4 separate regions of the Homo sapiens genome follow, and all the other regions are linked to region 2. The links are contacts of gene promoters, found by promoter capture Hi-C in blood cells and fetal thymus (Javierre and others, 2016). All regions are on one chromosome and are shown on one strand. Each heading gives the region's core, a stretch centred on a gene start or on the middle of the fragment in contact. The rest is flanking DNA. Distances are from core to core; before and after follow the strand shown.

The links. The method cuts DNA at HindIII sites, captures the fragments that hold promoters and counts their contacts. A CHiCAGO score of 5 or more calls a contact.
Region 1: the fragment with the promoter of POLR3E here is called in contact with the fragment with the promoter of DCUN1D3 in region 2 in 1 of 17 cell types (erythroblasts); the score reaches 5.5 in erythroblasts.
Region 3: a contact is called between a fragment that was not itself captured here and the fragment with the promoter of DCUN1D3 in region 2, in 1 of 17 cell types (erythroblasts). The highest score is 5.6, in erythroblasts.
Region 4: a contact is called between a fragment that was not itself captured here and the fragment with the promoter of DCUN1D3 in region 2, in 1 of 17 cell types (total B cells). The highest score is 5.8, in total B cells.

What each region holds. Positions count from the first base shown.
Region 1 is chr16:22,293,204-22,299,627 of GRCh38, forward strand. It overlaps POLR3E (RNA polymerase III subunit E), which reads left to right and starts at 4,206. Exons shown (of 21, transcript NM_018119.4): 1 at 4,206-4,334. TRL-AAG2-4 (tRNA-Leu (anticodon AAG) 2-4) reads left to right here and starts at 3,937; the gene lies at 3,937-4,018. RefSeq lists silencers at 3,827-4,276, 5,287-5,426 and enhancers at 3,950-4,494, 4,937-5,076. The HindIII fragment of the contact is 19,375 bases long and covers 1-6,424 here.
Region 2 is chr16:20,898,388-20,905,020 of GRCh38, forward strand. It overlaps DCUN1D3 (defective in cullin neddylation 1 domain containing 3), which reads right to left and starts at 1,971. Exons shown (of 3, transcript NM_173475.4): 1 at 1,817-1,971. LYRM1 (LYR motif containing 1) reads left to right here and starts at 2,384. Exons shown (of 4, transcript NM_001128302.3): 1 at 2,384-2,502. RefSeq lists enhancers at 1,531-1,580, 1,790-2,575, 2,576-3,361. The HindIII fragment of the contact is 5,697 bases long and covers 1,060-6,633 here.
Region 3 is chr16:22,350,888-22,357,681 of GRCh38, forward strand. All of the region lies in intron 2 of CDR2 (cerebellar degeneration related protein 2), which reads right to left. Among named protein-coding and RNA genes, the nearest start is that of CDR2, 20 kb to the right of the region's middle. RefSeq lists an enhancer at 6,384-6,463. The HindIII fragment of the contact is 181 bases long and covers 2,007-2,187 here.
Region 4 is chr16:22,190,677-22,197,028 of GRCh38, forward strand. SDR42E2 (short chain dehydrogenase/reductase family 42E, member 2) reads left to right here. Exons shown (of 13, transcript NM_001394319.2): 13 at 1-1,075. TRL-TAG3-1 (tRNA-Leu (anticodon TAG) 3-1) reads right to left here and starts at 5,116; the gene lies at 5,035-5,116. RefSeq lists enhancers at 1-135, 391-470, 971-1,030, 4,622-4,751 and a silencer at 5,502-5,581. The HindIII fragment of the contact is 2,795 bases long and covers 2,133-4,927 here.

The DNA of each region.
Region 1 (6,424 bases), core at 2,956-5,455, 1.4 Mb after region 2:
TCAAAACAAACAAACAAACAAAAAAAAAACAAAATCAGTAACTCACGGAGTCTCAGTTCACATTCTCAAGAGAGAATTTGATTGGTCCAACCTGAATCCTACGTCCACTGAAGAACGGTAGAACCCACTAGCCATGGCTGTGGGGGTGGGGCGTGCAGCACAAAGGTGGCTGCCAGGGACCCACTCTCTGGCTGGTCAGGCAGTTCCTAGAAAAATCAGACTGGGCAAAGATGCCAGCAATTATCCTTGACTGTGAGGATATTTCCTTTTGGAAAATCCAGTACCCAACTCACAAACAAAGTCCTTCCTGGTACTAAAATACCATGACAAACACTCCTATTGACTTAAAGGGGTTATTCCTCATTCAGCTTTGAACTCCCCACAATGCCTACCCTTTGTCTTCAATCCATGGCTGCTTCTGTATTTTTTTTTAATGTCTTGAAGAGCAACAAACTTTTCTAGCACAAGAAAATCTTTGCATATCATTACATATGTTAAAGGTAGATGGATGGCCAGGTGTGGTGGCTCACTCCTGTAATTCTAGCACTTTGGGAGGCTGAGGTGGGAGGATAGCTTGAGATCAGCCTAAGCAGCAAAGCAAGACCCCGTCTCTACAAAAATACAAAAGTTAGCCCAGTGTGGTGGCGCGTGGCTCTAGTCCCAGCTACTTGGGAGGCTGAGATGGGAGGATCATTTGAGCCCAGGATGTCAAGGCTGCAGTGAGCTGTGATCATACCACTGTACTCCAGCCTGGGCAACAAAGCAAGACCCCGTCTCTCTAAAAAAAAAAAAAAAAAAGGTGGTGGATGGAGGGGGAGAAAAGCCAGGCTAAGGAGGGATTGAAGAGGAAAGACATAAAATGCCCAAATGTTAGGGGTGTGTACCAACTGGATATTAGCCAGAAACTTGAATCATGGCCCTGAAAAGTCTAATACCAGTCAATGCAAAATGAGAATTCTACTTATAAAAGTGTGATTTATATAGTTTTTGATGTGTCTAAAGCATCACCAGCGTTCGTAGAGTTCCTGCCTAATTCCCCCATTCAGTCACCTTAAGCATTGACTCCACTCCCTGTGTTGAACAGAACTAATGGAGAAAGTAATCCACGTAAATGACAGAGGGAAAGAGAAACGATAGAGAATGATAGAGGACAAAACCTTAGATATGAGGGATATTTGAGATTTCTTACGCCAATAAATGTGAAAAATCAAGTAATGGGGCTTTGTTTTCCCAGAAAACGACAACTTGCCAAAGTTGACTCAGGAAGAAATAGAAAAAAAAAAAAAGTCATCAAAAGTCATATAATTTGGCAAAATGGAAAAATATATGCATATCTATATCTATATAGAGAGGGTCTCACTCTCTCACCCAGGCTGGAGTGCAGCACCTGAATCTCGGCTCACTGCAGACTTGACCTCCCTGGCTCAAAGGATCTTCCCACCTCGGCCTCCCAAGTAGCTGAGACTACAGGCACATGCCACCATGCCCGGCTAATTTCTTTTCTTTTGTTTTTTGGTAGAGACAAGGTTTCTCGATGTTGCTTAGGCTGGTCTTGAACTCCTGGCGTCAAGCAATCCTGCCACCTCAGTCTCCCAAAGTGCTAGGATTATAGGAGTGAGCCACTGAGACCAGCCTATTATTAATATTATTATTATATAATACTAGGGAAAGTATAAATATAGACCAGCAATTTCATTTCTAGTGTATACCCTAGAGAAATGTCCATACGTAAGACAAGGAGCCATGTGCAAGGATACTTCCTGCCATATTGTGTGTAATGACAAAAATTTAGTAACAACTTAAAAGTTGTACATGGCATGGAATGAATGAATTAGATCTATAGGCATCATAACAGACCTCAAAAACATAATGTTGGGCCTGGCACAGTCTCTCATGCCTGTAATCTTGGCTACTTGGGAAGCTGAGGTGGGAGGATGGCTTGAGCCCGGGAGGTCTAGGCTACAGTAAGCTATGATTGCACCACTGTACTCTAGCCTGGGTGACAGAGCAACACTCTCTTAAAATAATAATAATAATAATACTGTTGAAATGAGAAAAGCAAGTTTTAGGATATCAGTACAATGTGCTAACATTTATATAAGTGAAAAACATACAGATAACCATTTTAGATATTATTCATAAATTTTATAGTAAAAATGTAAGAAATTATTGGAAAGATACACATCAAATTCATGACAGTTATAGACAGGGGAGAATGGGAGGGGGACTTATTTCTATTTGCAATGGTCTAATAATTTCTATTTGTAATAGTGTGATCTATTTTTTATTTATTTATTTATTTATTTATTTATTTATTTATTTATTTATTTGAGACCGAGTTTCTCACTGTCGCCCAGGCTAGAGTGCAGTGGTGGGATCTCGGCTCGCTGCAACCTCCGCCTCCCGGGTTCAAGCAACTCTCCCGCCTCAGCCTCCCGAGTAGCTGGGATTACAGGCATGTGCCACCACGCCAGGCTAATTTTTGTATTTTTAGTAGAGACGCTTGAACCCAGGAGGCAGAGATTGCAGTGAGCGGAGATCGCACCACTGCACTCCAGCCTAGACAGCAAGAGCGAGACTCCACATCAAAAAAAAAAAAAAAAAAAAAAAAAAAAAAGAAAAGAAAAAAGAAAAGGAAAAAAATGCCACAATACTAAGTCATTAATTTAATGCCAGGTGGTGGCACTATGGATGATAATTTTTTTCTTTGTAATTTTTGTGCATTTTTGTTTTTAATATCTTTGCATATCCACACGGATAGGTATTTTAAAATACAGTCTGGTGAAAAATAACAGCCAATTGCAGATCTATATGAATAATGTGACAATATTTGTGTTCAAATCCATACACAATAAAAACAAAGCTATCTTCTATGGCTATATCTATATATATCCATATAGATATAAACATATAAATTCACAGCAAAAGATCTAGAAAGATATATAGTGTTTTAGTCCATTTTCTGTTGCTTATAACAGAATACCTGAAACTGGGTAATTTGTAAAGAAAAGGAAGTTATTTCTTACAGTTATGGAGTCTGAGAAGTCCAAGGTCAAGAGTGTGCATCTGGTGAGGGCCTTCTTGCTGGTGGGGGACACCTGCAGAGTTCCCAGGCAGTACAAGCCATCATATGGAGGGGGTGCTGAGCTGCTCCCTTGCTAGCTAAGGTCTCTCTCCCTCTTCTTATAAAGCCATCAGTCCCCCTCCCAAGATAACCCATTAATCCATTAACCCATTAATCCATGAATCCATGAAGAGATTAATCCATTCATAAGGGCTCCACCCTCATGATCTAATCACCTCTTAAAGGGCCCACCACACAATACTGCCACATTGGGGATTAAATTTCCAACACATGAAATTTGGGGGACACATTCAAACCATAGTTCATATTAAACAGATAATAATGGTTAGTTACCTCGGCGGAGGGGCCTAGGATGCGAGTCAAGGTCAAAGAGCATTTGTACCTTATCTGCAAAGTTTAAATATTTTGCAATAATTCGCGTGTTATTTGTGTAAGTAAAAATTTAAACATAATTTTTCAGAGACAACTGCCCAGACCAGCTCCAGGGTTTGGCCGTCAGATCCCCTGGTGCATGTTTCTGATCAGATCAATTTCTTCTCCCGGAGACACCCAATCCGGGTCGTATGGATTACCTGTGGGTTAACCAGGGGTCTCCGGGTTAACCATCCAACTCAGAGTAAAGTTTCTAAAAATGCGTTTTGCTCTAATACCTATTCGGAACCAACCTGGGTCTAAAGACTGGAGCAAGTGTTTATTTTCCAAAACACGGCTTTTTAAAATAATTCTATAGGGATCACCTTGAACACACGTTAAGCAAAAAAAAAACCTCAGCGAAAACGCCTCGCAATGTCCAGATTAAATGCAAAAGCAAAAGCATTAAGTAGCTTTCTGGCATAAACATATTGCAGCTGGGTAGCGTGGCCGAGCGGTCTAAGGCGCTGGATTAAGGCTCCAGTCTCTTCGGGGGCGTGGGTTCGAATCCCACCGCTGCCAGGGTTGCTGTCTTTTTGTCCCCGCTGCATACACTCCTGGCTCAGTTTTGCGCGTGCCATCAGCGCCCCCTGCTGCAGGGCGGGGCTCACGGCCTGCATGAATGGCGCGGCGGAGGGGGCGGAGCCGCGTGCACCGGGGCGGGGCATTGTGGGTAAGAGGAAACGCTGGGGCCGGCCCGCTCCCCCCCACGTGTCCGCCGGAGTTTCTCCACCAGCAACATGGCCGCCGCCTGAGAGGAGAGCCGGGCCGCCGCCGTCTCTGCAGCCCGCGGGTAACTGGGCCGTTGCCGCCGTCCGCGCTCGGCCCCCGCGGAGAGGTGAGTCCCGTCTTGGCAGTGCCCGAGCTGGGGCTTGAGCCGGACCGCACTCACGACGTGGGCCTGGGCTAGATTCCCGAGTAGGCCAAGGAGGCCCGCGCCGCGCTGTGCCTAGCAGCTGGAGGCCTCTCGGGACTCGGGCGGGGAGGAGGGGCAGCCGGCTCCAGGCCGACCCCGGACTCTGACTTCCTTGACCTGACACCTGGGAGTTGGGGAGGCCGCGGCCGACGCTGGCGGCGGTGACTCAGGGTCCAGCCGACCTGCCCTATCCGGGCCTGGGAGGCCTCCTACGGAAGAAACACCTGTCCGCGCGTCGGGTGTAGTGGCGGCTCGCGGCAGGGACTGCGTGGTGGGCGTGAGAAGGGGGGCCTGACCACCCGCGAGGGAGCAGAAACCCATTGGACAGCGAGGCTCGGGATCGGCGGCCCGCCCCGATGGGCAGGGAGGGCACCTGCGCCTGCCGGAGCCCCCACTTCGCAGCTGAACCGGATTAGCCTCTGCCCGGCGAGGCCAGGGATTCCTCATTCATTTATTCAGGCAACCATTCAGTGTTTACCGAGCCAACTCTGTGTTCCGGATACAGCCCTGACCATTCGGTCCGAGGAGGTGTCAGTAAACAAACAAGGTCGTTCCTTTGGGTTAGCTTTAGAATTCCTTGGGCTTGGAGGCGGAAAGAAGAGATCTTAGCGATCTCCACAGTTTCCTCATCTGTGAAATAGAGATAATAGAAATTCCTACCTCATAGGGTTGTGGTGACGGCTCAGTAGAAACCGGGTGACGCTCCTGCTTGCAGCGTTTGACTTGTGGCTTAGCGTCATTACCCGCTTACGTTGGCAGAAAACATGTTGTCAAGTAATAACAAACCTTCCCAGAGGTTACGTTTATTAGCGTCCTGTCCTTACTCCTTCCCCGCAGGGGTCTGGAGGTCGGTACTTAGTTTCCCTACTTTAGGGATGAAAATAGGGAGGAATACCAAACCCAGACAACTCAGGTGGGTCACAGATGCCAAGCAGCTGTGGTGGGATTTGAACCTGCACAGTTTTGTTCTCGGGTCCAAGCTCTTACCCACTTAACCATACTGCCGTTTATCAGAAAACCGTGCAGTATAGTGGTTAAGAATAAGAATAAGGATCTTTGACATAGCGAGACCCAAGTTTCTGTCCTCATTCCACCTTGGATGAGTTGCTTATATCTGAACCTCAGTCTCGTCATTTCCAAATTGAAGATGATAAATCTCTATTGATAGGGCTAATGAGAAGATTAAATATAAAGTATTCTTTGTACTATATTGAGTGTCAACTTCGTGCCAGGCACTGTTCTAGGTATTGAGAGAACCAGCACTGGATTTTTTTTTTAAAGTAATGCTCCCCATAACAGCTTTGATGAAGTAAAGTATGATTGTCTGCATTTCATAGTTGAGGAAACTGAAGCACTGAGAAGCCTTCATGGAGCTTACGTTCTATTGCAGAAGACAAACAACACCTGAGCAAATAGACCAGGTAGTTCCAGATTAAGATGAGACCCACCAAGGAAAGAAAACAGAGATGTGGTAGGGCCTGGGAGGAGGCTGGGGGAGGCTTTTAAAATAGGGTGGTCAGGGAACCTATCCTCTCCTGCAGGCGGTGATGATATTTAATAAAAAGGAGCAACCTTGGAAATCCCTGTGGGAGAATAGATGATGTGCAAAGGACCTGGGGTGGACTGGGGCTTGCCTTGTTGGAGGCCCAGCAAGTGGCTACCAGCCTGGATGGTGAGGGGAAGACAGAGACAAGATTATGTAGGGCCTTAGGTGGCTCATGGAAAGGAGTTTGGGTTTTATTTTATGTGACAGTGGCAGTTGACAGGTCTTAGGCAGGGAAATAATATGATTTACTTTTTTTTTTTTTTTTTTTTTGAGATGGAGTCTTGTTCCGTTGCCCAGACTAGAGTGCAGTGGCAAGATCTCGGCTCACTGCAACCTCTGCCTTCTGGGTTCAAGTGATTCTTCTGCCTCAGCCTCCCGAGTAGCTGGGATTACAGGCGTGCATCACCACGCCTGGCTAATTTTTGTATTTTAAGTAGAGACGGGGTTTCACCTTATTGGCCAGGCT
Region 2 (6,633 bases), core at 721-3,220:
GCTCCATGAAAGGGTGAACCTTTTGCTTGTGTTCACCTGTGTACACCCAGTGCCTGAAACACTGGCTAGCACTTAGGAGTCAATAAATGTTTGTTGAATTAATGAACTGTGAACTTTTTAGTCAATGGCAAACTAGGTTCTAAATCAGTTAAAGTGAGAACAGTAGTCATTCTTCTGTTGTATTTTTGTGAAACATCTAAACACGCTGTTACTGGTATAATCAAGCATTAAATATTCTGTTTTTTAGGGCCCGAAAGCCCTGAATAGGACTTCCTAGCATCAGATCTTCCTAGCACTATGCATATCAAGCTCAGTTACAGAAGGACAGGACTTACGGGCACTTTCTAATCAAAGGACTCCGAAAATGTAGGCACTATCTCTTAAAGTTCTTCAGAAAACAGTTTCAGATTCTACAAAAGATTTCCGAAGAATGTATCAACACCAAAAGGAAAATCATAACACTTCACTCTGATATCTGTCTGAGAGGCTAGAAGAGTGCTCCTTGATTTTTTTTAAACCAACAGCATATCAACAAAGAGGCCTTCTTTCCATTCTTTGCTTCAAATAATTTTTTCACATCCGTTATTGGTTTGTATTCGCCCTTAAACCAAAACTAAACAGATCACACTGTCTCATTTAGGACCCCCATACACAAAGAATCAGCTACGTAAAGATGAAAATCAGCACAAGCTGAACGTGTCACTGATGATTTGTGTGTCACACATAAATGGAGAAAAACATAAAAGAGCTATTGTCCAATTGTAGAAACAAAAAAGTAATATGGGGTTTTCTGTTCTCTGAAGTGCATCATGAAAAGTGGGTGGAGAGAAACACAGAAATCCAGAATTAGCCTAGCAAATCATTTTGGGAAGAGCTGACAACATGTAAATTCCTCACACATAAAGTATTTCGAGCAAGAGACCTTGATTCCTGGGCTATGATGCCATTCAGGATTCCTTGCAAAGGCTCTGGAATTCCAGTATTCATAAAAGAAAATGCTCATTATAATCGGAGCGTAAGAGGTACTCCCAACGTGACAGCCTGTATGAAGTATTACAAAGCTTACAGTTAAGATCTGGGATAGAGGCTGAACACCAAATTCAAAAGAGGTAACCAAGGCACTAAGTGCCATAAAGGAGGAAAGGGGAAGAAAAAAAAATCCACTATTGCCACTCAGCCACAGAGAATTAAAGTGGAAACCAGGGGTGTGCATGGGGGAGGATGAGGGGTGAGAAGTGCGGGGGGTGTGGTGGAGGAACAAACAATACATTTGTCACCCCGTCCCACTTCCTATAGAGGATACAGGCAAAGCCTCCAGCCTCATTACCTCGGACACAGATGGTTATCGTTTATAGCAAAGGTGCACAAAAAGGCCTTCAGGTCTGAGCCCCTTAATTCCAGGGCTGTTAATGATTAAAGAGAACGATGGGGGTGGGGAGGGAAATGAGGGCGGAGGGAGCTGGGAGATTCACCCACCACCTCCCCCTAGGGCTCCTACCTCACAGCGCTCACCCAGGACAGAGGACCAGAGTCTGCACCCCCTCCAGGGCAGCTCCAACCCCATATCCCCAGGCCCTGGGTTGAGGGGTGCTGGCGGTGGGGAGGCAGGGACAGTAGGTAAGTTTTCTGAGCCCTGCGGCTGACACGCCACAGGCTCCCCTCACAGCCTCTTCTTTCAGAGGTACCACTCCAGACAACGCGCTGACTTCCACTCCTCCCTTTCCACCCCCCTTTCTCGAAGGTACCCAACCCCCGCCCCTTCATCTCTCAATGCCCCCCCGCCTTTTCCTCAACTCCCCCCCTCCCCAAAACTCACAGCTGCTCCAGAGGTTCCTCCAGTCAAACCCTTTCTGGAAACGACGGCGGCCCGGCGGGTCCAAACCACCTACCATCCCCGCTCGCGTTTCCAGGCTCCCTACCCCCGCCGCCGCCGCCTCTTCTTCCACCACTGCCACCGCCTCCTCTTCATCTGCGGCCCACCGGCGGCGGCCGCCCCGAAGCCCCGCCCCCTCCATCGCCTCCTGCATCATCACTTCCGGTAACCCCGCCGGCCGCCAGCTCCAGGAGGGAGAATGGGAGAGGGGCAAGGAGGGAACGAGTGGAAGATTGCGTCACGACGCACATAAAGACGTACGAAGCCGTCGCCAAGTAAGGGCAAAGACCTAGCAACCCGGAGGGAGCTGGGCTGGACCATTTTTTTTTCTTGTTTTACGGGAATGGAGCGGGGAGGATAATGAAAGCGTAAAGGAAAAATAGGGGGAGGAGGAGCTCAGCTTATTGTTGGATGCGGCGGGAGATGGGTAGAGTCAGTCAGTCGAGACTCCCCCAGACCTGGAACTGGTGCTCCCACAGAGGTGGGCCCGGTGGTTTGGTCCGGCCTGGCCTACTGGACCAGCCTGTGCTCGGTCGGCCACGGCTCTGCTGGGCTCCTGGCGCCGCCTCCTCCCAGCCCGCCGCGGGCTGCGCGCTTCTGTGGGTGGGGGAAGGCAGGACTGACGCAGAGTGAGTGTAGGGGATGGAGGCGCCGACTCCAGGCGCGGGAGACTGGCGGGGAAGGGGTTGGCTCCCCACGGGCAGGGATGGTTTGGAGGTTGGGCTGCGGCGTTGCCGGGAGACGGGCCTGTGTGACCCCAGCTTCGCGGGGGCGGCTCGGTGTCATCGCCACCGGCCTCGGGGACCTGCCTCACGGAAGTGGCTCGCGCGTCCAAGAGGGGAGGCCTGGTGTGGGGACGCTCAGGTGCCGGCGTGGGGCCCCCTCGGAGGCTGTGAATCTTTTGGACCCCCGAATGTAAATGGGAGATGGTAGGGGCCGGTCCGGGGGCGAGAGGTGTCTGGCTGGGGAACGTTGACCCACACCAGGTCCCGTACAGGAACGGAGACTCCCTAGGACCGTGAGAGCCAGCTTCGTAATTCTCTTGCTCTTCAAACCTGAGAGTAGGGTGTTGCTCCGTTACCTTCCATTCGTGTGCAGGAGAGAGTTAAGTAAATCAATAAAGAAGGTATCAGCAAGTGAGAAATGCCCCCCAAAGACCGGATGAGGTGACAGAAGATGGGGGGAGGGCCCCTCGAAATCGGGTAAGGTCGTTCAAAGGAGGCCACGGTTTTGCGGGGATCCGAGACAATGGGTTTTCTGGGTGGAGAGAAGAGCCAATGAGAAGGACTTTTAGGTTGGAAACAGCCAGAAGGCCATGTGGCTGAAGCAAACAGAGCCAGGGCCGGAGTGCCCTGTGATGTAGTTGGGGAAGTGGCATGACTGTAGCAGCGCCTTTTAGCCCAAGGCAGGGGTTTGGCTAATGTGTACCTTAAGGGTTTTAAGAAGGGAAGTGACCTGACCTGATTTACATTTTTAAAAATCCGCTCTGCCTGCTGGATAGAGAAGGGTGGAAGTAGTTAGACCTGTTAGGAGACTGTTGCACTGTAAGACAAAGGAGAGGTGAAGATAGTGTTGAAAGGGCCGGCCGGGCGCGGTGGCTCACGCCTATAAACCCAGTACTTTGGGAGGCCTAGGCGGGCGGATCACGAGGTCAGGAGATCGAGATCATCCTGGCCAACATGGTGAAACCCCATCTCTACTAAAAATACAAAAATCAGCTGGGCGTAGTGGCACGCGCCTGTAATCTCTGCTACTCAGGAGAATCGCTTGAACCCGGGAGGTGGAGGTTGCAGTGAGCCAAGATCGCGCCACTTCACTCCAGCCTGGGCAACGGAGTGAGACTCCGTCTTAAGAAAAAAGAAAAGGCCCTCAGTCACAGTGGAAATGGAGAGAATTCCATTCAGCATATATTTGGGAGGTAGTGCTTGCAGGACTTGCTGGGGAATTGGATGTGAAGTGTGTAGGAGAGGGAGGAACCAAGGTTAACTCCCTACGGGAAAACAGTTTAGAAAGGAATATCGAAAGTTCTCTTTTGAACATATTAAGTTTGATAAGTCTATTAACAAGTCAAATGAAGTTGTCAAGAAGTTAGATATACAAGTCGGGGAAAAATCATAGTTGGAGATAATAAATAAGGAAGGCAGGGAGGAGCTCCCAGATCACCTAAGAAGAGCGTGTAAATAAAAGAGGAAGACCCCTAAATCCCTTGGGTTCTTACCATTTAGAGAGTACCCAGAGAAGGAGAAGCCAGCAAAGGAGACGACACAGACAAGACCTCAGAGATCAAAGGAAGAGGCCCCTTAATATCCTGGAATAATGGGACCCATCCCCGTAATCAGTGAATCTCATCCACCCGCTTGCCAGCTTCTACCCGCAGCAAGTAGAAGCTAAGTCCTGGCTCAAATCTCTTCCCTCCCTCCCTCTCCCAGCTGTCAGTGCTTTTGGACTTGTGCTCAGGTAATTTGTGTCCGTTATAGAAAACCTGACTTTTTGGATAAATTGTCTGTTTATATGGCTGTCTCCCCCAGGTACTGTTTCTTATTTGTGTCTTCCTGGCTCCTGGTACAGAGCCTTGTCCATATGGTGGTTGTAGCTGGGCAGGAACACTGTGTTCATAAGGTATCAGCCATACAATCCAACAGCTTCTCACAAAAAGGGGCTTTTGTCCCTGCCACTGCTGCCAAGCCCACCACAATTACGATCAGTTCCACAATATAGTGTAAAGGGTATCAGAAGATGAATAAGAAGGCCTGGGTTTCAATCCTGGATCTGCCACTGACCAGCAGAGTGGCCATGGATAAAGCTCTTCTCTCTGAGCTGAAGGGTTGGCCTAGATTTGAAGTTGCATACTGACAAGACAGATATTGCCTGCAAACATATTGTTCAGCCCACACAGTGATTTAAATTCTTTTTTAAATTTACTTGCCAACATTTAAAAATTGGACATCAAAATCCAGACTTTGGGCTTCATTTGAAAAATCCGACAATCTGACAACACCAGCCTGAAGTTCCTAGAGGTTCCTACACAGCAACTGTCAGCCAGAGCTGAAGAGCTGTCTCCCGTCTATGTGGCTCATGCTCAGGGTTTGCCAAAAAGGCCTCTCCTCTCCTGCTACCTGGCTGACCCCTGTGGGCATTTGATTTGCAATTCTTGGTCTAGGGCTGTGCTATCCCTGTGTAGCCACTGACCACATGTGACTATTTAAATAAAAATTCAGTTCCTCCAACACAGTATGTTTCAAGTGCCAGTAGCTACCTGTGACAGGTGTGTGTCCTATTGGACAGAGCAGATAGAACCTTTCCTTCACAGAAAGTTATCTTGGTCAGCATTGGACTGGAGGAACTCGAGGGTACTATGTAGGCTAGTCATTCTCCGCATGTGAAACTCAAGGGACTTAGCCTACTGAGGAGCTCTGGTGCCTCTGCAGATGGGAAAGTTGCGCATTCAGTAGTTATTTGATGGTGGAGGAAGCTGTCCTGAAGGCCTGGACCCCTGCACAGAATGTGGTTATTTATCAGAGAGTTGGATCAAGGGTCAGGTGCTAGAAAGCCCCAACTGTATCTAGTGTGGCATGCAAAGCTCTTTGGTCAGTTTCCTAATCCAGTTCCTCAGAAAACTATAACAAAGCAAGAACTTAAGTCAGTGTCTTGTGTTCTCAGACTTTTCGATTTGATATGAAGGGTGAAAGATCCTGGCTGGGGAGTTATGAATGAATGAATGAATGAATGAATGAATGATCTTTAGCATTGGCCTTCAATTCCAGCCCCCCCACCACATCTCTTCCACTGCCTTCTACTACTAGTAACTGGTGACTGCTTTTTCACCACCTCTGACTGACCCGTACCTTTTCTTTGCCTGTTAAAATATGCTAATAAGGAAACATACTTCCATTTCTTTTGAATTGAGGGGCCCATAACTTTTCATTTAGAACTTCTATCCCTGATGGGAAAAATAGCTGTATATCTATTGGTTGTTATCTTGGTTACAGTAGCCTGATTGGAGTTCCCCTGTACAAATATAATCTTGTGTGCGCTCCGGTGCTGGTATGATATATTTAGAATGGGTGTGCTTGCCTCCTGTGATCTTGTTTGGGATAGACATTTTAGAAGTCTTTCAGACATTTTTTGTTTTGGCCCCGTGTTCTAAAAACTTCCCATATTACAGGGCCTAAACTAAATTATTTTCCCTTAGGTAAAATAAAAATGCCATCCACCCTCTCCTCCCTGCCCCCTATTGCTGACAGACCATATTCTTATCATTTTCTGTGTAAAAAGATGCTGTTTCATAAAATAGCTGCGGTATGATTAAGTATACCACACAAGCATATCCTGAAATTTGCAAAACAGTGTGTGGCATGTGAGGCATTACACTTCCCTTTTTGGATTCTAGTAACCAAAAACTGAATCTGAAACAGGAAATAAGTCTGTGGTTGTGTGTGTGTGTGTGTGTGTGTGTGTGTGTGTGTTTAATTGATAGGAGGATATGGGACCAGAAATGTATGGAGAACAATTTCACTTAAAGGTTATTGGATTGGGGTAAGAATATGGGTGTACACCAAAAAGGAGGGAGTATAACAGATCTAAGAGAAAAGTGCCCTGAGGGATAAACAAGGAGTAAGAGATAAAGGAAGAAAAATAGGAAGGGAAGCCTGGTCATGCCTTTGGTGTTGGCACCTGCATTATATTTCCAGTAAGAAGTATGCGCTGTGGTCTGAAGATAAGCGGTGCTTCCAACAGGGTTATTTACTCATACCAAAGAA
Region 3 (6,794 bases), core at 847-3,346, 1.5 Mb after region 2:
AAAATTATACTCTAAGTTCTAGGGTACATGTGCACAATGTGCAGGTTTGATACATAGGTATACATGTGACATGTTGGTTTGCTGCACCCATCAACTCATCATTTACATTAGGTATTTCTCCTAATGCTATCCCCACCCCGACAGGCCCCAGTGTGTGATGTTCCCCACCCTGTGCCCAAATGATCTCGTTGTTCAATTCCCACCTATGAGTGAGAACATGCAGTGTTTGGTTTTCTGTCCTTGTGATAGTTTGCTGAGAATGATGGTTTCCGGCTTCATCCATGTCCCTGCAAAGGACATGAACTCATCCTTTTTTATGGCTGCATAGTATTCCATGGTGTACATGTGCCACATTTTCTTAATCCAGTCTATCAACTGATGGACATTTGGGTTGGTTCCAAGTCTTTGCTATTGTGAATAGTGCCGCAATAAACATACGTGTGCATGCGTCTTTATAGCAGCATGATTTATGATACTTTGGGTACATACCCAGTAATGGGACTGCTGGGTCAAATGGTAATTCTAGTTCTAGATCCTTGAGGAATTGACACCCTGTCTTCCACAATGGTTGAACTAATTTACACTCCCACCAACAGTGTAAAACGTTCCTATTTCTATGTGGAGGATCTTAATTTGGAAAAAAAAATCAATCTCTTTCTCTGAATGAGGCATTCTGGACCAAAAAAAATGAAAAGTATGTTGCTTTGACGAGAAATATATTTTAGCTTAATATGCTTCAAAGACTCCTGTTATTTTTAATTTTATGAGAGTTTTATCACCATTATCCTCCTTATTCACGAGAAATTTATCAGATGATTTATTCTGGTCCTGCTAAGACTGCTTCCTAAATGGCCAAGGATAAAGGGGAATAATCCCAACCTTAATGCCGCAGTGTAAGTCACCTTGATTCCCTCCCTGCTCAGCTCTACCTGAAGACACTAAAACACAGTATATATTCCAAAGGAAAAAGTCACAGTATTTCCCTGGACAGAACCAGAAAGAGGGGAGAAATGGTTTGAAGCTTACTGATGATCAAACTGTAAAAGACTCAGAACTTGACTTTAAAAACACTCTTCTTGGCCAGGCATGGTGGCTCACACCTGTAATCCCAACACTTTGGGAGGCCAAAACAGGCAGATTGCTTAAGGCAGGCCAGGAGTTCAAGACCAGCCTGGCCAACATGACAAAAACCCACCTCTAATAAAAATACAAAAATTAGTCCGGCGTGGTGGCACGCGCCTGTAATCCCACGTACTCAGGAGGCTGAGGCATGAGAATCTTTTGAACGTGGGAGGTGAACGTTGCAGTGAACCGAGATCGTGCCACTGCACTACAGCCTGGGTGACAGAGACTGTCTCAAACACAACACAACACACTCTTCTTGAGGCTTTTTCTACAACTCTAGAAGGATTTGCAAGGCTAACAAACAATGGGCTAAATGACACTCAACGGGCCCTTAAAGTGTTGAAAAAAGCATATATGGCTTTTTTTTTTTCAAATCCATTTACATAACTCAGCAGCAAAGAGTTGAACAAACACTTAACCTAACTTCAACTTTCTCATCTGAAACTCTTGAAGTCAAAAGTGTTTTGGAAAATTCTTTAAATTTTAGAAAGACAACATGGCGCTCATACCTGACACACAGCTGACACCTTATAATACCTGTGAGGTCTGGGCAGCACCCTGTAATCAAGCATTAATATTTCTGCATCAAAAAGTATGAACTAAGACTATAAACAGCCTCACATCAGTTCAGGTAAAGATCTACTACCAAATGAATCTGTTGCAAATTTAAGGGGAAAAAAAAAATCTTGCTTTATAGAGCTTTTTGAGTTCGGAATTAGTAAGTGGATCTGTTAGTACCTACCATGTAGAACTGGCAGAATTAAATGAGAAAGGTGAGCACATGGCACGGTCTATAAAAGCCTGTGTGTAGTCTTCACTGCCTCAACTCCCACCAGCTTCTTCTGGTCCTTTGGAAATCAACCACTAATTCTCATGCGTGAAGCTTTCTCAGAACTAAAGGAGTAGGCCCTTAATCCTGCCCTCGGGCTAGTAATTCCATAGTAGGTTCTTGTCATTGATGGGAACATGTTCAATCTCTTAGGAATTGATGAGATTCCACAGGAGCGGAAAAAAGGCTTAGAATCACAAGAATATATATATAATAGCTGCAGAAATGTTTCAAGCTTCTTTATATCAAGTATAAATTATCAAGTATTCTTTAGGACTCAGAACTACCTTTAAAAAGGCTAATGCATAAGCCAGACATTAATTTATTAATATACAACAGGAACTGTTCCTGCCCAGTGACAAGAATATTCACATCCTCTATTAGGACACAGCTGCCCCACAAAGGGCATGTGAAAGGCCGATTCATGAATGAGAGTCTCTGGTAGACATGGGATCAGAGGAGTCTGATGGGAGGCAGTGGTATAGTAGCTAAGAGCACAGGCTTTGGAGTCAGAACCTGGTTTGAGGTCTTGCTTTGCTGTTTAGAACTGGGTAACCTACAGCAAGCACATTTTTCTAATGTGAGTTCTCCTCATCAACTACTTCATAAGGCTGTAAAGATAAATATGTGTGTGGGAGAGACTGGACTATGTCACCCCAAAGCATGCGTCTTTGGCATAAAAAGGTTCCTGCCTCCTCCCTCTCTACCAGGGAGAACAAAGGTTAACCACTAACAACTTTAGACCTTTATGGGCCAGAAGACAGCACCAGAGGAATCCACACTAACAAGCTTTGCTAACGGGCCTTTATCACCACTTACTTGCCTTCCCACAAGTTCTGCCCCTAGACAAAGTTCTTCCCCTTTGTCTTGTCACTTCTCTAAAAAATTACCATTCTTTGTTGAAGATACTACATAAGCTGGAATTCAAAGCCACCTCTGAGAATGACTCATCCCCTGGGTATCTCCCACACATATAAATGAAATAGATATGTTAGTAAGCTTGTTTTTCTCTTGTTAATCTGTCTTTTGTTGCAGGGGTCCTTTCCAACTAAGCACTCATGAAGGTTGAGGAAAAAAATATTTTTCCTCCCTGACATATACAAATATATAATTTACAAAAACGTTAATATATGTAGAGAGCTCAGCATGAGATCTGGCAGATGGTAAATTGCTCAATAAGGAGAAGCTACTGTCATCTTTATTTAAAGCTACAGTTTTCAAACTTTACATGTGCTAAGATTCACCTGGAAGAAGATTTATTAAAGTGTAAGAACCTGGGTCCCTTCCCCTCAAACGGCTGAGACTGGAGTAGAGCCAGGATTCTGCATTTTTAGCAACAAACCCAGGTGATATTAGTACAGGCAGTCCAGAGATCACACTTAGAGAAATGTTGATCTTGGACATGGAAAATCCTGGACGTCCCCTGCCCTGACCAATGTCCTTTTCTCTTGGGTCTAGGAGACACAGGCATTCACTGGATCAATGATGACTCTTCAGCTTAATGCTCACCGTCTCCCTGCATAGGGCTCAGCTTAGATGCAGTTATCCACTAAGATTAGGTTATATTTTAACTGTACCACAGCAGCATTCATCATCATAACGCTTCACTTTGGTATGTTCTTAACAATCATTAATTCCCTGAAATTACAAACTAGTTACCTTAACCTTGCTTGAGTGATCCTTCCTAACTTCTCAGTCCAAACAAATACTGAATTTCTACAGATGGCTAATCTTATCCACTGCATTTTAAAACTTTCTATTGTGGACCAGGTGTGGTGGCTCATGCCTGTAATCCCAGCACTTTGGGAGGCCAAGGCGGGTGGATCACTTGAGGACAGGAGTTCGAGACCAGCCTGGCCAACATGGTGAAACTCCATCTCTACTTAAAAAAAAAAAAAAAAAATTAGTTAGGCATGGTGGCACACGCCTGTAGTCCCAGCTACTTGGGAGGCTGAGGCATGAGAATCACTTGAACCCAGGAGGCAAAGGTTGCAGTGAGATAAGATCACACCATTGCACTCCAGCCTGGGCGACAGAGTGAGACTATGTCTAAAAATAAATAAATAAATAAAACTTTCTATTGTGGATAATCTCAAACATATATACATGCAGAGAAATGGTTTAATGAACTCCCACGTACCCATCAACCAGTTTCAACAATTATCAACATACAGCCAATCTTATTTCATCTCTACTCTCCTACTTTCCTCGTCCTCCAATCATTTTAAAGCTAATCCAAGGCATCTCAAGTATACATCTTCATACATTTCTAGGACGTTTTATTTTAACCACAATTCCTAAGGGAAAAAAACTCAATAATTCCTTAACATCTATTACGTTTCAGCATTAATATTTTCCCAATTGTCTCAAGTGGTTTTTCCAGCTTCATTTGTTAGCTATTGATTTTTTTAAAATTTCACACTTAGGGGAGATATCTTTGCCTTTTTTGGAGTTGCCCCACTGCAAGGCAAGTGCCTCCCTCCTCTAATGCCTTTACGATCCCCTATCCGGGGGGATGCAGTTCTCCTGGCTGCTCCACCTAAGCCAGCAGTTCTTAGCCTGGGGTCCATGGATAGACTTTAGAGGGTCTGTGAACATGGATGAATTTAAAGGGTCTGAACAGCTACATCTTCATTTTTGTTAACTTCTAAATGAAATTTGACATTTCTTTCAAGTACTAATAGATCTGTTAAAATTTATAGGAGACCACTGGTTTGGACTGAGTCCCTGCCCTAGGCCCAACAAACCAAACCAAAATGGAGTCACTTGTGCTAAAGTTCCATGTCAGCAAGCCAAAGCAAAGTTGTTCATCTGACTTCTGAGAAATTAGAAGAGATAATAGCCAAGCCCCCAAACATGCCAGTTTTAGCCAGCATAAGGGACTTCCCTCTGCTTTAACCTTTACAAATAAATTAACTTTGAAACCACCCATTTTTTGTTTTCTGTTTCTGCTTTCCTCAGCCCCTGTCTATAAAACCAACTTCCTCTGCTCAGCTCATTGAAACCCTCATTCTCTAAGAATGAGGTGTTGCCCAACTTTAGAATCTCAAATAAAAGCTAATTAAGATCTTTATACTATGTTTGTCGTAATTTTTTCTTTTGACAGAGGCAATAAACCACTAGTAGTATTAGGTTTATCTGTGACTTCATCATCAACAGAAATCACAGGTATTTTCATATTGCACTATAGTTGCAGAAATCTTGATTTACTGCCTACATTCATCACTATTTGAAATCATGGTAGTTTCTAGATCTTGTTATTAAATATGTTAATACGTATCTATATTACATCACAAATTTACTTTTTTCAATATTTGACAGGTATTTCATTCTAACAGGTTTCCTTTGTAATTCAATGAATTTTAAGAGGATTATCCTAGATCTCATTAGATAATCAAAGGGATCCATGGCACCAAAGAAAGATTATAAATTCCAGTTATCCTTCTGGCCTCATTTCAAACATAACCTCTTCAGAAGCCTTTTAAGACCACTTTGGCCAGGTGCTGTGGCTCATGGCTGTAATCCCAGCACTCTGGGAGGCCGAGGTGGGCAGATCACTTGAGGTCAGGAGTTCGAGACCAGCCTGGCCAACATGGCAAAACCCCGTCTCTACTAAAAATACAAAAATTTGCTGGGTGTGGTGGCTCATGCCTATAATCCCAGCACTTTGGGAGGCCGAGGCAGGTGGATCACCTGAGGTCAGGAGTTTGAGACCAGCCTGGCCAACATGGTGAAACCCCATCTCTACTAAAAATACAAAAATTCGCCGGGCATGATGGCAGGTGCCTGTAATCCCAGCTACTCAGGAGGCTGAGGCAGGAGAATCACTTGAACCCAGGAGGTGGAGGTTGCAGTGGGCCGAGATCACGCCACTGCACTCCAGCCTGGGGGACAAGAGCAAGACTTTGTCTAAAAAATAAAATAAAATAAATAAAAATACAAAAATTATCCAGGCAAGGTAGTGTATGCCTGTAATCCCAGCTACTCTACTGGGGAGGCTGAAGCAGGAGAATTGTTTGAACCTGCGAGGCAGAAGTTGCAGTGAGCCAAGATCATGCCACTGCACTCCAACCTCAGCAACAGAACAAGACTCCATCTCAAAAAAAAAAAAGAAAAAAAAAAAAAAAAAAGAAGACCACCTTAAAGCAGGTCTAAAGCGGCAGCATTCCCAAGGTACCCTAAATTGATTTCTCTCAAAACAATACAATAATATTCAATTTTTTGTTGTTGTTGAGATGGAGTCTCACTCTGTTGCCCAGGCTGGAGGCACGATCTCAGCTCACTGCAATCTTGGTCTCCCAGGTTCAAGTGATTCTGCTGCCTCAGCCTCCTGAGTAGCTGGGATTACAGGCTTGCACCACCACACCAGGCTAATTTTTGTATTTTTATTAGAGACTGGGTTTCACCATGTTGGCCGGGCTGGTCTTGAACTCCTGACCTCAGGAGATCCACCTGACTCGGCCTGCCAAAGTGAAGGGATTACAGGCATGAGCCACCGTGCCAGGCCAGTACTGTAGTCTTCTAAGAATGGAAGGCTCTTGTGTATCTAGTCCATTCCTGACACACAGTAGGGGACAAAAAAATACTGGCGAACTGGCAGTTTCTAGACTTTTCTTCACAACAGCTTATTGTGCTTGGCATGACTCAGACTGTGAGATGTCAAGGGGGATTTAACTGAAAGGTTTTGAGAAGGGCTTTGGCTTTAGCCCTCTTGGGAAAACAGCCTATTAACCATGAATTCTCTCCCCGCTTTTCCATTTATAGATTATTTCTCTGTATTTATTCCCATGGCAGCAATTGCCCCGGTAATCTGAGGGGGAGACTTTTACAGTTCCTACCA
Region 4 (6,352 bases), core at 2,280-4,779, 1.3 Mb after region 2:
TGCTCCGCCCCCTGAATCCTGGCCACGTCCCTGGTCGGCCCAGACGCGTAGCCCCGAGTCTCTTTCCATGTTTTGACCACGCCCTTGACCCGCCCTTCAAATTGGGCACGCCTTCTTCCCCGCTCACTGATTTCCTGGCCTAGCCCCTGAGCAGACCTCCAGACCTAGCCCCGCCCCCGTTTTATAACCCCGCCCCTGCTTCACGGCTTGGGCACGCCTCTTCCCCGCCCCCTGACTTCAGAGCCTAGTCCTGAGCCGCTCTCCAGGCCTAACCCCGCCTTCATGTCATAGCCACGCCCCTTCCCGCCCTTCCATGTTTGGGCACGCCTTCTGAGTCCTGGTCACGCCTCTGTCCCGCCCCCTGAATCTTTCCTACGTCCATGACCCTCCCTCCAGGCCCTGGCCCTGCCCCTTTTTTCCTCCCTCCGGCCTGTCCGGTTTCTGATATGGGCCAAGGCTCACAGCTTCCTCCGCCTTCTGGACCTTCTCCTAGTCCCTGCCCAGTCCCGGCCCACCCCCAGATTCTCCCTCATTCTGGTTTCGCCCCCTTTCTGGTCCTCCCCGCGCGCTTGAGCCCACCCTTTGGCTTCTCCTTTTGGGTCTGTCCTTGCTCCTGCCTCTGGACCCGGTCCCGCCCTTCTCGCGTGTAATTGAGTCCTGGCCCCGCCCCCTCCCTCTCTGGCTTCACCCCTTTCCAGCTCCGCCTCCCGGGTAGGTTCTCCCCGGAACCAGGCTGCCGCGTCGCTATGGGCTAACGCAGGCTCGGGTGACGTTGGTATGAGTTTGCGCCGTCGGCTGCTGCTCTGTCTGGTAACATTGCATTCGATCCACCCCGACCCAATGTTCTGGGCTTCTCATTCACACAGATCTGTGTGTTGACAGCCAGGGTTTGGGGAAAAACCGAGACTCAAGCTTCTGCCGAGCCCGACTTGGCCTTTTTGGGTTCCTGTCTGAGGATGACAGCATAGTAAGCACAGGTTTTAGTACCAGAAAGAGCATGAAAAATTTAAAAAAAAAAACTCTTAAAATAATTGGATGTCTCGATGAAGTACCAATAAAGCTATAATGGGAAAAATAGAGTTTAGTTGGTTATATTTTATGATTTAGTACTGTTTCTATTTATTAATTAGAGGTAGTGGTAATCACCATAATCTTTAAAGTTTAAGGTCACGAAACTTCTTTATCTAGCCCTGCTCTCCACAGAAACTTCGCCTCCTATCATCTTGGTATCAGTTATCAGTTGTAAGTACCAAGACATCAGTGTGTAAATACAACCATGTATAGATCATAATATGCACACGTGGGACTGGCAGAGAAGAAAAGCACCACAAGCCTGAGGTGGATGGGATCGAAAGGGCTCATCAGAACCAACATGGCCACCGCAGTGTGTGTCCCACTCTGCTGAACAAGGTGAGCAGTTTGGGAAGGAGCTAAAAAAAAATGTATGCTCCTCTCTGCTAGGCTGAATTTTATGTGTGTATATAATTTTTGAAAGAATAATAATCCTATGTCTGTTTAATGCTTGACAGTGTAAAAGAGCTTTCATCTATGTGATCTTATTTAATTCTTACAGCTACTCTTAAATAGGGTTTATTACTCTCCTTTTATAGATGACGAAAACTGGGGCTTTGTCTCATTCCAAAGAGCAGAGGAGGGTGGGGGTTTCTGCTCTACAGCTGGGGGAATTTGGAGGAGCACCGCCTAAGCCGCCACTGGCCTAAACACAACACGTGGTAACTTCTACTCTTCTACACTCTGGCCATGCCAAGGCTTGCGGTTGAACTCTGGTCTCGTTCTCTCAGAGCCGCAAACCTCGGACCATTTGAAGCTGGCGGTCCTGGGGCTTCCTTTCCTCTCGATAACATGTTTACATCCAAACTCACTTCCTTCCTCTCTTTCTTCTCCCTGCTAATCCTGGGAAATCTGTTCTTCGAGCAGGAAAAACAATCTCACACTGCTCACGTTATTTTCTAGATCTTTTGACTAGTGCCAAACCTACTTTTGAAAATCCAAAAGCCAAGAATCAATTTATTTGTTTTCTGGATTTCTCCAACTCATCTATTTCCTAACACTCTGGAAGCAGAATGTGTAAACCCTGGGCATGGGGACAACATGGATCGCTATGTCAAAAAAGCTTTTTTCCTTTCAAGCATCTTTATCCAATGGAAAAGGAGGTGGCATCCCCACCCAACAGGAAAACTGAATCACTGTAAGAATTTTTGAGACTGCCCAGACCACTAGCCTCCATGAGGTTCTGAAAGGGCAAGTAGGAGGTTCTAGCTTACTTGGAGACGCTAAAGAGAAGCATCGCAAATGCAGAAAACAGAATTGTCACAGTGGGCAGCCCAAGGTGACATAGTCGATCTGAAGGGATTATCAAGACAAACTCATAGGCTTTCCATTATGGGTGCTGAAGCTATTCCCAGTTGTAAACCCAATGCCAGGCATCTAAAACATCCTCAAGTCTCTCTCATCTTGAAAATATCTTCCCAGCAGGGCACAGTGGCTCACACCTGTAATCCCAACATTTTGGGAGGCTAAGGCTGGAGGATTGCTTGAGGTCGGGAGTTCAAAACCACCCTGGGCGATTTGGTGAGAACCCTGCTTCTACATAAAAAAAAATTTTTTTTAATTAGCCAGGTGTGGTGGCACCCAGGAGGCTGAGGCAAGAGAATCACTTGAGTCCAGGAGTTTGAGTCTGCAGTAAGCTATGATTGCACCACTACACTCCAGCCTGGGCAACAGGGTGAGACCCCATCTTTAAAATTTAAAAAAATCCTCCTTTGATTCCCCCATTTTCCCTCCCACAACTGTTCCTTTTGCTCCTCCTTTTCAAAATCAAATTTTGTGATGAATTGACCATACTTATGTTTCCATTTCTTCTCCTCAACCCATTCCAAAATGGCTTTCAGATCATCAATGATCTTGTCCATAAATCTTAATAGATATTTTTCCGTCTTTATTTTGCCAATTATCTTAGCTGTGTTCAGCATAGTTGACTGCCCCCTCCTTCTTGATCCGCATTTCTTGGTCTCTATGAAACCACACCTGTTTTCCACGTATATTGCTGGCCAGTCCTTTCCCGTCTCTTTCGCATCTCTTTCACTGGCTTTTCTTCCACTGCCCTCCCTTTAAGATGATGTCTCTCGGGTCTCTGTCTTGGCCCCTCTTCTCCCTCTGTGGGATCTTTCTGGATGAGTTCATCCCTTCCCATGGCCTCAGTCTCTAATACCTCCCAAATCTGTATCATTTCCTTGGAGTGCTCTCTTGACCTCCAGAAATCTATGTCCAACCTCCTACTCAACCCCATATCCCACAAGAATCTCCAGCTCAATGAAAATCAAACTGAAGTCATCATCTCCCACAAACCTGCTTTCCATCTATCTTGTGTTCCCTCCCAGGAGAGGAGAGGCACCACCAGCCATCCAATGACCCAAGCCCAAATCCTGGGCGTCACTTTTGACGTGATCCTCTTCTTCTCGACATGCTCATCTGTGGATTCTGTCAAATCTATCTCTAAAATGTCTCCCTGACTCACTCCTTCTGTCCCGCACCCGGCCACTATTGTGGTACAAACCACTGTCCTTTCTCCTAGACAATTGCAATAGGCATTGAATGGGACCTCCTGTCCCTGCTGCCAGCGGGAACTTTCTTTTCTTTCTTTGTTTCTTTGTTTCTTTCTCTTTTTTTTGACACGGAGTTTCACTCAATCGCCCAGACTGGAGTGCAGTGGTGCGATCTCGGCTCACTGCAACCTCCGCCTCCCAGGTTCAAGCAATTCTCCTGTCTCAGCCTCCCAAATAGCTGGGATTACAGGTGCGTACCACCATGCCCAGCTAAATTTTGTATTTTTGGTAGAGACGGGGTTTCACCGTGTTGGCCAGGCTGGTCTCAAACTCCTAACCTCAGGTGACCCACCCGCCTCAGCCTCCCAAAGTGCTGGAATTACAGGTGTGAGCCACCGTGCCCAACCAGTGAACTTTCTAAATTCCAAATTGGAACATGCCACTCTCTAGCTCAAAAGCCTTCCATGGTTTCCCATTGCCCTTGGGAAGGGACCAAGTTCAAAGCCTTAACTCGGCATTCATGGCCCTCTTTGCCTGTCTCTTCGCCTCACCTATTGCCAATACTCCACCTCCACTCTCTGTGCAGCTGCCCTGAATTACCTTCACAGCGTCTCAGCCTTACCAGGCTCTTTAGGAGTTCCCTCTTGGAAATCCCCTCCCACGCCTTCACTTGGCTAATCTCAATTTCAGGCCCCAGCTAAATGTCACTTCCTTGCTTCTCAGGGGCCAGGTTAGCATGCTGTACTGCCTAACACTCCTCACAGGTGTAATTAATTAAAATGACAATGTCTGCAAAGTCGATGGGTTCAAAAACATGCCTGCCTTGTACACCACCACAGCCTCAGGACGAGCACGGTTTCTGGCACATAGTAGGCCCTTCATAAACAGCTCAACAACTGTTTATAAATGAAGGCCCCTAAATCAAGCCTGAAAACCAAGTAAGAGGTGAATCAATGAAGCAGAGACCTCAAGGTTGGCACCCCCACATAGGGCCAGACCCCTACTACTCCAGGGTCACCTGACAACAGAGGTTTATGGGGTCCCTGGAGCCCTCTAAAGTACACGGAGCAGGCCAGAAAGGGACCCCCGTCCCTAACTCAGGTCATGATTACAACCACCCCCAACTAACCCCAGGAAGACCCAGACAGGCTGTTGGGAACTTTTCAAGCTAGCTCAGATGCTTTCCCCTGGAAATGGGGAGATGTGTTTTGTTTTTTTGTTTTGTTTTGAGGGAGCTGGATGGGTAGGTGAAAGAGAGGTTTGTGTATTGGGCTAGACAGTGAAAGAGCCTGCACTGCAGTTTCTGCCTTTTCTCTTCCCTTCCCCCTTCCATTAAAAAAAATCCATTATAAGCAATCTAAAGCTTTAAAAAAGAAATACATCAGAAAGGAGAAAAAAGGAAGAGAAGTTGGCAAAGGACTACATAAAGAGATGGTTTATGGATAGAAAAGTGAGACCTTCTGAGGTGTGGCAGCGGTGGGATTCGAACCCACGCCATCGAAATGACTGGAGCCTAAATCCAGCGCCTTAGACCACTCGGCCACGCTACCTCCCGATCGTAGGGCTTCCTATGCCGGCATATTAGTGTGATGACGGAGGCGCCCCGCCCTCAAAGTTTGCGCATGCTCAATATAGAACCGCTGTCTCCTGCGTTGCTCACGGAGACTTGGAGTCACAGTGCTCTCGCGATCAGCAGCAGTAAACACACTAGGAACGCACTATTAAAATGAAGAGTGCCTACATATCAAAAATTAATATTTTTAATATTAAATCCTCACAAGTGTGTTTGGATTTGATTTTGAGTTTTCCTTGGGCGTGATCCTGCCTACAGCCACGTAGGGGCGCTCCCGTGCTGCCGCTTCCTCCCGGGTGGGCCGGGATCTTGCGTGGAGCCCCAGTTTGTATGTTGGGTCCCCAAGGTGCAGACGCTCTGTCCAGTTCAAGGCCCCTCTGTAGCCCTGAGTGGCCTCATGTCCTAGCCCTTGCCCTCGCGATGTAAGAATCAAGAGTTCAGGGAGGAAAACCATTGAACGTTGTTGCAGATTCTTTGCATGTGTGGGCTCCTAACATATCAAAAACTATTAAGCTTTCATAAGCTGTGCGACCCATTTTACAGAGGAGGAAAATAGAGATGCTAAGTAACTAGCCTCGGGTGCCCCAGCCAGCCGGCATTCCACAGCCTCCCAAGACGTTTGTTCGTACGTGCAGAGGATTTTAGTGCTTTTAGAAAAAAAAAAAAAAAGCAATAAATATAGAGTATAACCTAGCAAAATTCCATTTCCTATCATCTCGAATTATTACTAACATTTTGCATATTCGCTTCAATTTTTTTTTTTTTTTTTTTCCTGAGACTGAGTTTCGCTCCTGTTGCCCAGGCTGGAGTGCAATGGCGCGATCTCGGCTCACTGCAACCTCCATCTTCCAGGTTCAAGCGATTCTCCTGTCTCAGCCTCCCAAGTAGCTGGGATTACAGTCGCATGCCACCAACGCCCGGCTAATTTTTGCATTTTTAGTAGAGACGGGGTTTCATCATATTGGTCAGGCTGGTCTCGAACTCCTGACCTCAGGTGATCCGCCCGCCTCGGCCTCCCAAAGGGCTGGGATTACAGACGTGAGCCACCGCGCCTGGCCTGAAATTGTTTAAATTAAAATTAAAATTAACACTCTAGATAAAATTCAAGTCTCCTTTGATGTCCCCAAGTTCTATTCCCCCTTCCTTCTCTTTCAGGAGTTTCCCATCTTTTCAGTATGCATTTTCCTAATTTCACAATCACATAGGGTTGTCT